Linked DNA regions of Homo sapiens: region 1 is linked to region 2. Evidence: promoter capture Hi-C in 16 types of primary human blood cells and fetal thymus (Javierre and others, 2016). All regions are on one chromosome and are shown on one strand. Each heading gives the region's core, a stretch centred on a gene start or on the middle of the fragment in contact. The rest is flanking DNA. Distances are from core to core; before and after follow the strand shown.

Evidence for each region. The method cuts DNA at HindIII sites, captures the fragments that hold promoters and counts their contacts. A CHiCAGO score of 5 or more calls a contact.
Region 1: a fragment that was not itself captured here is called in contact with the fragment with the promoter of COX6A2 in region 2 in 5 of 17 cell types (M2 macrophages, M1 macrophages, megakaryocytes and 2 more); the score reaches 8.1 in M2 macrophages.

Annotation. Positions count from the first base shown.
Region 1 is chr16:31,343,585-31,349,823 of GRCh38, reverse strand. No RefSeq gene overlaps it. Among named protein-coding and RNA genes, the nearest start is that of ITGAX, 8.5 kb to the left of the region's middle. The HindIII fragment of the contact is 1,480 bases long and covers 1,953-3,432 here.
Region 2 is chr16:31,426,106-31,431,746 of GRCh38, reverse strand. It overlaps COX6A2 (cytochrome c oxidase subunit 6A2), which reads left to right and starts at 3,387. Exons shown (of 3, transcript NM_005205.4): 1 at 3,387-3,494; 2 at 3,596-3,732; 3 at 3,890-4,016. The coding sequence starts at 3,422. The coding sequence ends at 3,973. ITGAD (integrin subunit alpha D) reads right to left here. Exons shown (of 30, transcript NM_005353.3): 30 at 5,242-5,641. The coding sequence ends at 5,619. The HindIII fragment of the contact is 1,386 bases long and covers 2,627-4,012 here.

The DNA.
Region 1 (6,239 bases), core at 1,443-3,942, 81 kb after region 2:
TTGGTGCATGAATGAAGTGAAAGAATGGCAGAATGTTATCCAGGCAACACAAGGATCTGATAGTTCCAGTCCCAGTCACGATTGCGGCTCAGTTATGTGCCTGGGAAAGAGCATTTGCTGCAATGGTTCTAAGCTGAGGGTGGGGGAGGGGAAGTTAATAATCAGTCTTTCTCAGTGAAGGATAAAAGATGACACTCTCTAGATGAGAGTTCATTGAAGGGAGATACTGCATCTCACTTCTCCTTGTCTCTCTAACAATGGGCATTGGACACCGAGCAGATACAACCAGGGGTCAGTTCCTGTCTGTGGGTGTAGGATGGATGGGTGACAGGAGGGTGGATAGGTTTGTGTGTGGACAGGTGGATGGATGAAAGGATGGGGTGGAGGGTGGATGGGCAAATGTGTGGGTGGGTGGGTGGGTGGGTGAACAGGTGGATGGGTGGAAGGATGGGGTGGTGGGTGGATCGGTAGATGGGTGGGTGAACAAGTGGATGGGTGGAAGGGTAGATGGGTGGGTGGGTGGGTGAACAGGTGGATAGGCGGAAGGATGCAGTGGTGCGTGGATGGGTAAATGGGTAGATGGGTGGGTGAACAGGTGAATGGATGGAATGATGGGGTGGTAAGTGGATGGGTAGATGGGTGGGTGAAGAAGAGACTGCACAGGTTTGAAGCAAATGGACCAAATGCTCAGCCCCCTCACCTGCAGACCTGCTCAATAATTGCATGAATCAGAAGCCGCCTGGAGCAAAGCAAGAGTCGCCTAAGAGGTAAACTAACTTGAATTGGTGTAAATTTAGAATAAAACAAGGATTTAACTTGAGTAACAGGCAACAGGAAACAAGTCAAGCAGAGGAAATCAATGAGAAGTTGGGGAATGTGGGCAACGCATCCCTGGCAGACAGGGAAATGCTGGGTCATGAGCAAAGGGAAGAGGGAGGAAGGAGCTCCTGCTGGCAAAGCCCCGGGAGAAATGAGGGCTGTCCCTGCTCAGACTCCCACACTGGCAAGCGATTTCACCAGAATGAGAAGAATATGGATTTAATTTGTATTTAAATTCAGTGAAATAGACACACAGGAGAAAAGGGGAAGTGAAGACAAGTCACTGAGAAACTGGGGAAGAAGGGAGAGAAGAGGAAAGATTATAGAAAAGAGGTGGTCACAGAAGGGGGCTTGGGTTTGCAGTGTTGGTGACAACACCCACACCTTCCATTTGAAGGCTTCCATTTGAAGGTGGAGGCTTCCCTCCACCCACCCATCCACCTGTTCACCCATCCACCCACCCATCTGCCCATCCACCCTCCACCCCATCCTTCCATCCGTCCACTTGTCCACACACAAACCCATCCACCCTCCCATCACCCATCCGTCCTACACCCACAGACAGGAACTGACCCCTGGTTGTATCTGCTCAGTGTCCAATGCCCATCATTGGAGAGACAAGGAGAAGAAAGCAGGATAGAGTGGGGAAAGAGGCTAAGTGACAAGGAGCTCTCCCCTGACCCTGACTCCAGCCTGGTCCCCGGAAGCTGTGAGCATGAATGGGTCCTTCCTTGAGGCTGAAGTGTGGCCCTTGGTTCTCCCCGGGTGGGTCAGTCATTGACCACCAGCCATTCTTCCCCACTTCCTCTAGCTTATCCCACTGCCACACAGAAGAAGGGGCTACTCCCCTGCAGGCAAGACCATTCCCCAGAGATTGGGGGCACTTGTGAGCCTTGAGCATCAACACAGCAACTGAGAAATTGGTGTTAACCCAATGTTAACCCTCCAAGCAAGAGTTTTTAAGGGCGAGGTACATTTCAGGAAAGCAGAAGTTACAGGCAAAATCATAAACCAATACCTGGAGGTTATACATTAGTTTGGCCTAAAAAGCCAGGATATCTTGAAGCAAGGCTTACAAGTCATACATGGGTTCAAAGATTCTTTGATTTGCAATTGGTTAAGGAAGGAAAGCTTCATCTAAAAACTTGGGGTCAGCAGGAAGGAATATTAAGGTCTGGCCTATGGGAGTGACTGTCTCTCCAGGGCCCTCAGGAAGAAATTTAGAGCAAAGAATAGTGATCAGAGTTCAGTCTTCACTTCCTCCTTATCAGTGGCCTACATACCAGCAGATGGCATTTTCCATCTGGGGGTGATATGGTTTGGATTTGTGTCCCCACTCAAATCTCATGTTGGATTATAATCTGCAGTGTTGGAGGAGGGGCCTGGTGGGAGGTGATTGGACCATGGGTGCGGATTTCTCCCTTGCTGTTCTCGTGATAGTGAGTGAGTCATCACAAGATCTGGTTGTTTAAAAGTGTGTAGCACCTCGCCCTGGTCTGTCTTCTTTCCTTCTCCAGCCGTGTAAGACATGACTCCTTCCTCTTCGCCTTCCACCATGACTGTAAGTTTCCTGAGGCCTCCCCATCCATGCTTCTTATAATGCCTGAGGAACCATTAGCCAATTAAATCTCCTTTCTTTATAAATTACCCGGTCTCAGGAAGTTCTTTGTAGCAATGCAAGAACGGACTAATACAGTGGGGGTCCAGGTTTCTGAAAAACAACTCAGGGATGTACGTTAAAACCCTTGGTTTTCTGGGGAACCACACATCTTGTGGCTCTCACTTCCTTGGCTATTGTTTGAAGTGACTGTTATCTTCTTGCTTACCGGGCTGCTCATATACTTCTCCAGATTAGCAAGGTGCCTGGAATTCTCCTTGAAGAAACTCAAGATTTTTCTTTATTTCCATGTGTAGGGGAACCCAGCAGGCCTCTGAAACGGATCCACGCTCAGTCTCAGGCACAGACAACATCTAGTGACCACAGAATGATTTCATCTTAATCCCTTTTTAGGGTAAAAGGAGGGAGTGAGAGAATCCCTAGGAAGGTGGGGTGAGAGAACAGAACAGGGCAGAAATCCAGGGTCTCTGTGAGAACTTGAACCAGTGGGGCCGTGCCTGGGAGGGGCTGGGCTGGAGATGCCTGTGTGAATTAAGAGAGGGAGAATTCCAAAGAGGAGGAGTAAGGCAGGGTCATCCCACTCAGCTTCTCTCTCCTGGCCCTGGCATGGTAGCAGGATTGGTCTCAACAGGCAAATGCGTATATGGCAGAACTTGGCAACCAATGCATTCCGTTCACATTCACTCAGCCCAGCCTGCAGAGGGATCTTATCCTTTAATGGCAGTGGGGCATAGGGGGCAGATAAGGGGAAGGATTTTAGCAATTGTTCAAGTCTGCGCCAAGATGGGAATGCCCACAGAGGAAGCAGAAAGGAAATTGCTCTATTGATCTATTTATCACAGTAGCTGGACCAGAGGATTGCGGAAAGACACAAAGACCAACCAAATGAGAACAGGCGAAGTCTATTTATTCAAAGCTGGCTCTAGCAAGGGAGTCAGTGGCCATCACTGGTGTTTTGGCAGAGACTCAAAAATGGGCAGTACAGTAGGAAAGCTTTGTAGTGGAAACTGGGAAGTCTTCAGGGATGCCCCAAGTAGAAGCTGCTGGCCTGGGAAGCTGTATGTGGCTCACTGGAAGCGGGCATCCTGTGCAATTGACTAGGGGACATATTTGGCTTTGTCTGGTTGGTCCTAAGTTGGAAGTAGGGACAAAAATTAGGGAAGCCATCAGTTATTGATTAAGTCCTGGACATGGGGCTGATTGTTAGTTATTGATAGGCTTCCTGGGCTGGTTGCTGCAGGCTGGGGGGCAGATGTCTATTTTTATGTCTAGTCTGACCACTATCCCTTTGTATATTCAGTCTCTTGGACTCTAGAAAATGTGAAGTATGCCAGGTGCGGTGGCTCATGCCTGTAATCCCAGCACTTTGGGAGGCAGAAGCAGGAGGATCACTTGAGCTCAGGAGCTCAAGACCAGCCTGGGCAACACAGCAAGACCCTGACTTTACAAAAATTTAAAAATTAGGCTAGTACTGGCTGGGCACGGTGGCTCACACCTGCAATGCCAGCACTTTGGGAGGCTGAGGTGGGCAAATCACGAGGTCAGGAGTTCAAGACCAGCCTGACCAACATGGTGAAACCCCGTCTCTACTAAAAATACAAAAATTAGCCAGGCGTGGTAGCGGGTGCCTATAATCCCAGCTACTCAGGAAGCTGAGGAAGGAGAATTGCTTGAACCCAGGAGGCGGAGGTTGCAGTGAGCTGAGATCGTGCCATTGCACTCCAGCCTGGATGACAGAGCAAGACTCCGTCTCAAAAAAATAAATAAATAATTAGGCTAGCACAGTAATGTGGGCCTGTAGTCCCAACCACTCAGGAGGCTGAAGCAGGAGGATCCCTTGAGCCTGGGAGATCAAGTATGCAGTGAGCTATGATCGCACCACTGCACTCAGCCTGGATGAAAGAGAAAGACCCTGTCTCAAAAAAAAAAAAAAAAAAAAGAAAGAAAGAAAAATGTGAAGTGGCCCAGTTGGATACTATATGGTCCTGAAGATGTGTTAGGATGAAGGGAAAGGGATGTCTGAGAGCTGTCTCTCCTTCAAGAGTGCACAGAGAATAGGAAGCTGGGGAAACCCAGGCCTGTTCATTCATTCATTCCCTCTCTCAGCAATTGTTTGTTACATGTTCTGGGTATTGTCCTAGGGTCTAGGGGTGTGATGGGGCTTCCTGTCCCCTGGGAATGTACAGTCTCCAGGAAAAGAAATGCAGGTTGCCATGGCAGCAAGTGAGAGGCAGAACTTCTCCCAGCTGGGGGATCAAGAGGATCTGGAGGAAGATCACTTCAGCTGAGGCAGGGGTCAGGTGAACAAGAAAAGGAAGTGAGTTCTGGGCAGAGGATACAGCATAGGCAAAGGTTGAGAGGTGAAAGGGAGTTAGGGGAACGCGGACAGGTCCCGACCTTCCCAGATAGGCCATGTTGAAGCCGGGCTTCTCCGGTAATTACTAATCACAATGCCTTTCACTTTCAGAAGCGTGTTGGTCAACCAAAGTGTGGCTCACCTCGGAAATGTGAGGTTCAAGAGGGAGGGGTGGGCCGGAGCAGAAGCTGAGCTACAGAGGAAGCCAGGGTCTCAAAGGTCACCTCAAAAACAACTGCCCAGGCTCAGAGGCCAGAGTGCTATGTGGAGTCAGGGGACCAGAGTGATTGGAGAGCCGTGTCCTGCCTAATAGGGCAGTTCTGTTGCAGCCTCATATTGCCAAACGTTTCAGTTTTTCTTTTTCTTTCTTTTTTTTCTTTTTCCTTTGAGGCAGGGTATTGTTATGTTGTCCAAGCTGGAGTGCAGTGGTGCCATCATAGCTCACTGCAGCACTGACCTCCTGGGCTCAAGCAATCCTCCCACCTCAGCCTCCTGAGTAGCTGAGACCGCAGGTGTGCACCAGCACACCTGGCTAATTATTATTATTATTTTGAGATGGAGTTTCACTCTTGTTGCCCAAGCTAGAGTACAATGGTGTGATCTTGGCTTACTACAGCCCTCGCCTCCTGGGTTCAAGCGGTTCTTCTGCTTCAGTCTCCTGAGTAGCTGGGATTACAGACACCCGCCACCACTCGCAGCTAATTTTTTGTACTTTTAGTAGAGATGAGGTTTTGACATGTTGGCCAGGCTGGTCTCGAACTCCTGACCTCAGGCGATCCACCAGCCTCAGCCTCCCAAAGTGCTGGGATTACAGGTGTGAGCCACTGAACCTGGCCCTTTTTTTTTTTTTTTTTTTTAAGAGACAGGTCTTGCTATGTTGCTCAGGCTGGTCTTGAACTCCTGGGCTCAAGCAATCTGCCCCCTTTGGCCTCCCAAATGCTGGGATTACAGAACTGCACCACCATGACTGGCCTCCAATTTTTCTTTTTTTATTATTATTATTATTATACTTTAAGTTTTAGGTTACATATGCACAACATGCAGGTTTGTTACGTATGTATACATGTGCCATGTTGGTGTGCTGCACCCATTAACTCGTCATTTAGCATTAGGTATATCTCCTAATGCTATCCCTCCCCCCTCCCCCCACCCCACAACAGGCCCCGGTGTGTGATGTTCCCCTTCCTGTGTCCATGTGTTCTCATTGTTCAATTCCCACCTATGAGTGAGAACATGCGGTATTTGGTTTTTTGTCCTTGCGATAGTTTGCTGAGAATGATGGTTTCCAGCTTCATCCATGTCCCTACAAAGGACATGAACTCATCATTTTTTATGGCTGCATAGTATTCCGTGGTGTATATGTGCCACATTTTCTTAATCCAGTCTATCATTGTTGGACATTTGGGTTGGTTCCTAGTCTTTGCTATTGTGAATAGTGCCGCAATA
Region 2 (5,641 bases), core at 2,138-4,637:
GCCTGTAATCCCAGCACTTTGGGAGGCCGAGGCAGGCAGATCACTTAAGGCCAGAAGTTCGAGACCAGCCTGGCCAACATGGTGAAACCCCATCTCTACTAAAAATACAAAAAAGTAGCCAAGCATGGTGGTGTGCACCTGTAATCCCAGCTACTCAGGAGGCTGAGGCTGAATAATCACTTGAACATGGGAGACAGGGGTTGCAGTGTGCCAAGACTGCACCACTGCACTCCAGCTTGGGGGACAGAGTGAGACTCTGTCTCAAAAAAAAAAAATCACTATGACCTGGAGAATAGAATGCTCTGATTGGGTAGGCCTGGATCATGTGGCCCTTCTTGGAGCTAGAGGAGGGAGTCAACCCCACTTGAACTTGAACTGAGAATAAGGGGGGCAGGGGTGTGTGTGTCAGTATCAGAAAAGAAGGCATAGATATATTGGTCATATGACACAAAACAGTAGACATCCACTATCACATAGCCACTGGCCCCTCCCAAGTGCAGAGGGAGCTCAGAGCCCCATTTATTTAGAGTCTATGTCCCTGTTGCCACTGGACCCCACCCCAATGCTGTCTGAGCTCCATCTCTCTGTACCTGTTCGTTCTAGCTAACCCATGTCCTGTATCACAGTTGTTTTTCCAGGACTATTCTAATTTCAAATACGCTGTCCCTAGGGCCCCCATAAACATTTATACTTAGTAGATCACATGTAATCGATCTTTGCTTTAGAAAATGTGGTCATGGTATGCAGCATCCCAGGAAGAGGGCACAAGAGAAACTGACCCTGAGTCATGCCTCCACCTCCTTCACCACCAACAGCTGAGATACTCTGAACAGAGGCTGAGATGCTGCCCTCCGGGGTTTATTTAGCACCTGGTGAGTTTGTTCTTCCCTCTGCCTAAAGTGGAGGAAAAATTAAACCTCTAGAAACTGAAAGTGTTGGCAGCAGCCAGGTTAAGAACTGTGTGAGTGAGAACTTACAGAAACAATGGTGAGTGCACAGCCTGGAAGAGACAGCTCTGCACACCCTCTAGAGAGGCAGGTAAGATGGTGACAAGCCCAGAAAAGCACAGACCACCTGAGCGGAGGTCTCTGGGTACCTGGGCAAGTGCACCTCGTGATGGTGACAGCAGCCCAGGACAGAAGTGGCCCTCCTCAGGGCGTTCTTGACATCCCAGCAAGAAAACCTCTCCACAGGAGCTCCCAAGCTGAGAACAAAGGGATGGGAATTCCCAGGGAATTGTTTGGCAGCAACCAGAAAAACTCTGAGGGGCCTTTTAGGGGAGAAAAGAAACCTAGAACCTTTTCTTCCTTTTTTCCTTCTTTTTTTTTTTCTTGAGAGAGTCTTACTCTGTCACCCAGGCTGAAGTGCAGTGGCACAATCTTGGCTCACTACAACCTCCACCTCCTGGGATCAAGCGATTCTCCTGCCTCAGCCTCCCGAGTAGCTGGGATTACAGGCACGGGCCACCACACCCAGCTAATTTTTGCATTTTTAGTAGAGATGGGGTTTCACCATGTTGGCCAGGCAGGACTCAAACTCTTGACCTCAAGTGATCCGCCCTCCTCATTCTCCCAAAAGTGCTGGGATTACAAGCGTGGGCCACTATGCCAGGCCTCTAGAACTTTGTCAAGTAAAAATACCTGTCTTCATGTCTGTTTTCTCCAGGAGCCATTATCTTATATACGTAGGGAGGGGGCTATGTGTAGAGGGAGATGCCAGGTATCTTTAACTGGAATAGGGCCCCATCTTCTCTGCAACAATGCCAAAGTCCAGCTGGGAAAAAAACTGTAGGAAGAATTCTATTATAGCTCAGTGAGAGCTCAGGAATAATTTTTGTAACACTGTATAACATTTGACTGCTCAAGGAGGTTATTTTTTTTAAAAATAGCAGCAGCTTAAAGTTGGATGGAACATACTGTTCAGTTTATTACCAATGAGAAACAGGTATAGAGCCCCTTCTTGAAAATATATCTTCCTCGTTTTTTTTATATATTAAATTCAGATTATATGTCTATATAATTCATTCTTCTTTTGTATATTAAGTTCATATTAGTACATCAGCCCTTGATCAAAGCTAGAAGCTTCCTATTGGATTGTAATTCTGAAAAGGCATTGTTGTAGGGTTAACCAAAGTAACAAGGTTCAAGCATTCATTACATACATATTTTTAGAACACCTCCTTCATGCCAAGGTCCCTGCCCGTTGCTGAGGACAGAACAGGCAGATGTCATCCCTGCCTGGTCTTGTGGCTTTCTTGTGACCTGCTTTGATAGAGGGTTCACACCAGCCCTGTCTAGGCTTGCTTTCTCCAAGTAGTCATATTTTTCAGATTGAAATAATGCACTTTGCAGTAGACACCTGTCAGGCTTGTGGCTGCCTGGAACCTTTTGAATACTCATCCTAGACCTGGAGATTTTCCCTACAATTCCTGCCTCCCTAAGGCAGAATCCAGAGCTCAGTTTCCCATCCCCTCCTGCAGCTGGGGGACCTAGGGGTTGCCAGTTGGTGCAATCACATAATTCTTTCAGAAAAGAGCGACCCAGGATACAGGTTTCATGAAGAATCTGTTTTCAAGAGGGGATGAGGGTGGAAAATTCTGGTTTTCCAGGGCAGCCTTAATGAAGCTTTTGGCATCCAGGGTCCAGCAGTGTGAGCTGTGGGGGTGTCACTGCAGCTGGCCAACGGAATGACTTGTTTATGACTGTGCAGACTGTAGGCATCTCTGGCTATATCAGACATAGTAAGCTACCTAAGATTCTCAATTACTTATCTTCTAAAACTAGTAAGAGTGAGTTCTGTTCTTTGCAAAGAACTGTGACTAATACATATACTGAACTACTGTTACCTGCCAAAATCCAGGTTGACACATTCCTACCTTACATAAACTTCATAAAAATGATGTAAGGGCCGTGTAGTGGCTCATGCCTGTAATCCCAGCACTGTGGGAGGCTGAGGCGGGAGGATCACGTGAGCTCAAGAGTTCCACACCAGCCTGGACAATATAGTGAGATCCCCGTCTCCAGTATTTAAAAAATCTTTTAAGGTACGAATTATTATACATTTTACAGCTGAAAACACTGAGACTCAAAAAGACACTTAATTCATTCTACAAATATTTATTAAAGCCCAACTGTGTGCCAGCCACCAGGCATAGAATAGGGAACAAAATAGTTTCCCTGCAACTATATAAAAAGAATGGCATATTGTACTTAAATGCCTCCTTGCCAAAATAAGAGGCACAGGACAACAGCTGTCTGGAGATGACCTCAAGCCAGTCAGGCCCCATTTTAAATATAGAAACCCCTAAGAATAGCCGCCAGTGCTCCAGACTCAACAGGTGATTGGCCCAGAGAGGGGAGGTGACCCCAGGCCCCAGGAAAGGGAGCGAGGACAGCGCTGGTTCCCGGCTCCCCGCACCATCATGGCTTTGCCTCTGAGGCCCCTGACCCGGGGCTTGGCCAGCGCTGCCAAAGGAGGCCACGGAGGAGCAGGAGGTGAGTGGGGAACGGGCGGATCCGGGGGCTCCCCTACCCTGCCCACCTGTTCACAGGCCCGCCGCCCCAGGACCGCCGCGCTCACCCCGCTCCGTCCGCAGCTCGTACCTGGCGTCTGCTGACCTTCGTGCTGGCGCTGCCCAGCGTGGCCCTCTGCACCTTCAACTCCTATCTCCACTCGGGCCACCGCCCGCGCCCCGAGTTCCGTCCCTACCAACACCTCCGCATCCGCACCAAGGTACGCGGGACGGGCGCGCGGGCGGCACGGGGGTGCTGCGGGGGCGGGGGGGGGTGCTGCGGGGGCGGGGGGGGGTGCTGCGGGGGGGGGGTCGCGCGGGGCGCGGACTCCGGACTCACGGCGCTCACGCGCGCTCCCTCCCCCGCTCTCTCCACAGCCCTACCCCTGGGGGGACGGCAACCACACTCTGTTCCACAATAGCCACGTGAACCCTCTGCCCACGGGCTACGAACACCCCTGAGGCCCCGGACGCCCCCGGACACAATAAAGGTGTGAAGCTTCGAGTCTGCGGCTCTGTGGGGAGGGCGGGGCCACGGGGAGCGCGCCCAGAGGCGCCCGCTCCGCGCATGCGCCCAGCTTGGTAAGCGCTCCTGCTCCGCGCATGCGCCTAGCGCGGTGGGCGCTCCACGTGCTTTTCCCACGCCGCTGATACGGAGGTGCTCGAGGGAGCCTCCTCCACTCACAGGTAGGCGATCCCAGCTCCCTGTCTCTCACCTGGTAATAATGAGGCCTCCCTCTCACACACACCTATTAATAATTAGGGCTCTAGGCTGTAATGGGCTTCCGCGTACACCGAATCCTCACAGTAACGCTGGGAGCAGGGTATAAATTTAGTTCACCTTCTCCCGAGGAAGACCTGAGATTCTTGGGAATTAAATGACTTGTCCAAGTTCCGGCAGCTCGGCAGAGCCCCCATGGGAGCCCAGGGCTGCAGATCCTGAAGTCCCACTTCTTGCCTGACACCTGAGCTGCTGGTGTCTGTGAATCCCAGCTCTCTGGATTTCAGACGGAGGCTCCACAGTCCTGTGTGTGAGGCCTTGGGACCTAATGCTGGATTTGGAATCTTTTGATAATTCTCTATAATCTTTCTTTCTTTTTTTTTTTTTTTTTTTGAGACGGAGTCTCGCTCTGTCGCCCAGGCCGGACTGCGGACTGCAGTGGTGCAATCTCGGCTCACTGCAAGCTCCGCTTCCCGGGTTCACGCCATTCTCCTGCCTCAGCCTCCTGAGTAGCTGGGACTACAGGCGCCCGCCACCGCGCCCGGCTAATTTTTTGTATTTTTAGTAGAGACGGGGTTTCACCTTGTTAGCCAGGATGGTCTCGATCTCCTGACCTCATGATCCACCCGCCTCGGCCTCCCAAAGTGCTGGGATTACAGGCGTGAGCCACCGCGCCCGGCCTATAATCTTTCTTAATGAGTCTTCTATATGGGAAATCACATGCTCCTAGCCTGGCTCTCCTGGCTTCTGAGTACCTCATTCAAGGGGGACAGGAGTTCAAATGAGCTCTGGACATTTCTTCACCTCCTAGGACAGCCTGCCCACTTACCATTACAGAGGAACCTGAAGTGTGTGAAGAAACCCATGACCAATGCATGCCTGCGTGCACGTGCATGCACATGCACACACACACACACACACACACACACACACACTCTTTGACCCTCTCCCCTGATACACACCTCTCAGCCCCATCAAGAAAAGATGACCTCAGGCTCCCATCACCATAGAAAGTGAAAAAACTTTTTCAATGCCCACAAATAGGTTCCCCCGACTATTCCCAGAGAGGCACTCAGGTCCCTGGGTTATAGCTCTTCCACGCAAGGAAAGTGTGCTATAAACATCCTCATTTCATGTGACAATTCTTAAGCATATGAAAATTTATGCTGGCACCATGCCTGCTTCTGTAAAAAGTGGGTCATTGCTGAAAAAGATGGACAGATATGTAAAAACATTACAATCTCTATCTCTCCGAGAAGGTGCTTAGCACCTGGTAGGTTGCTTAGGCCAGTGCAGATCTATGCAGAAGTTGTTTCCATGTAAGTTGATTTATGGTTGCAAGCAAGTCCAGCCCACAGTGGTAGAGATAAACAGGAAAGTGGATTATTAGGACAAAGGCACATTTGGGG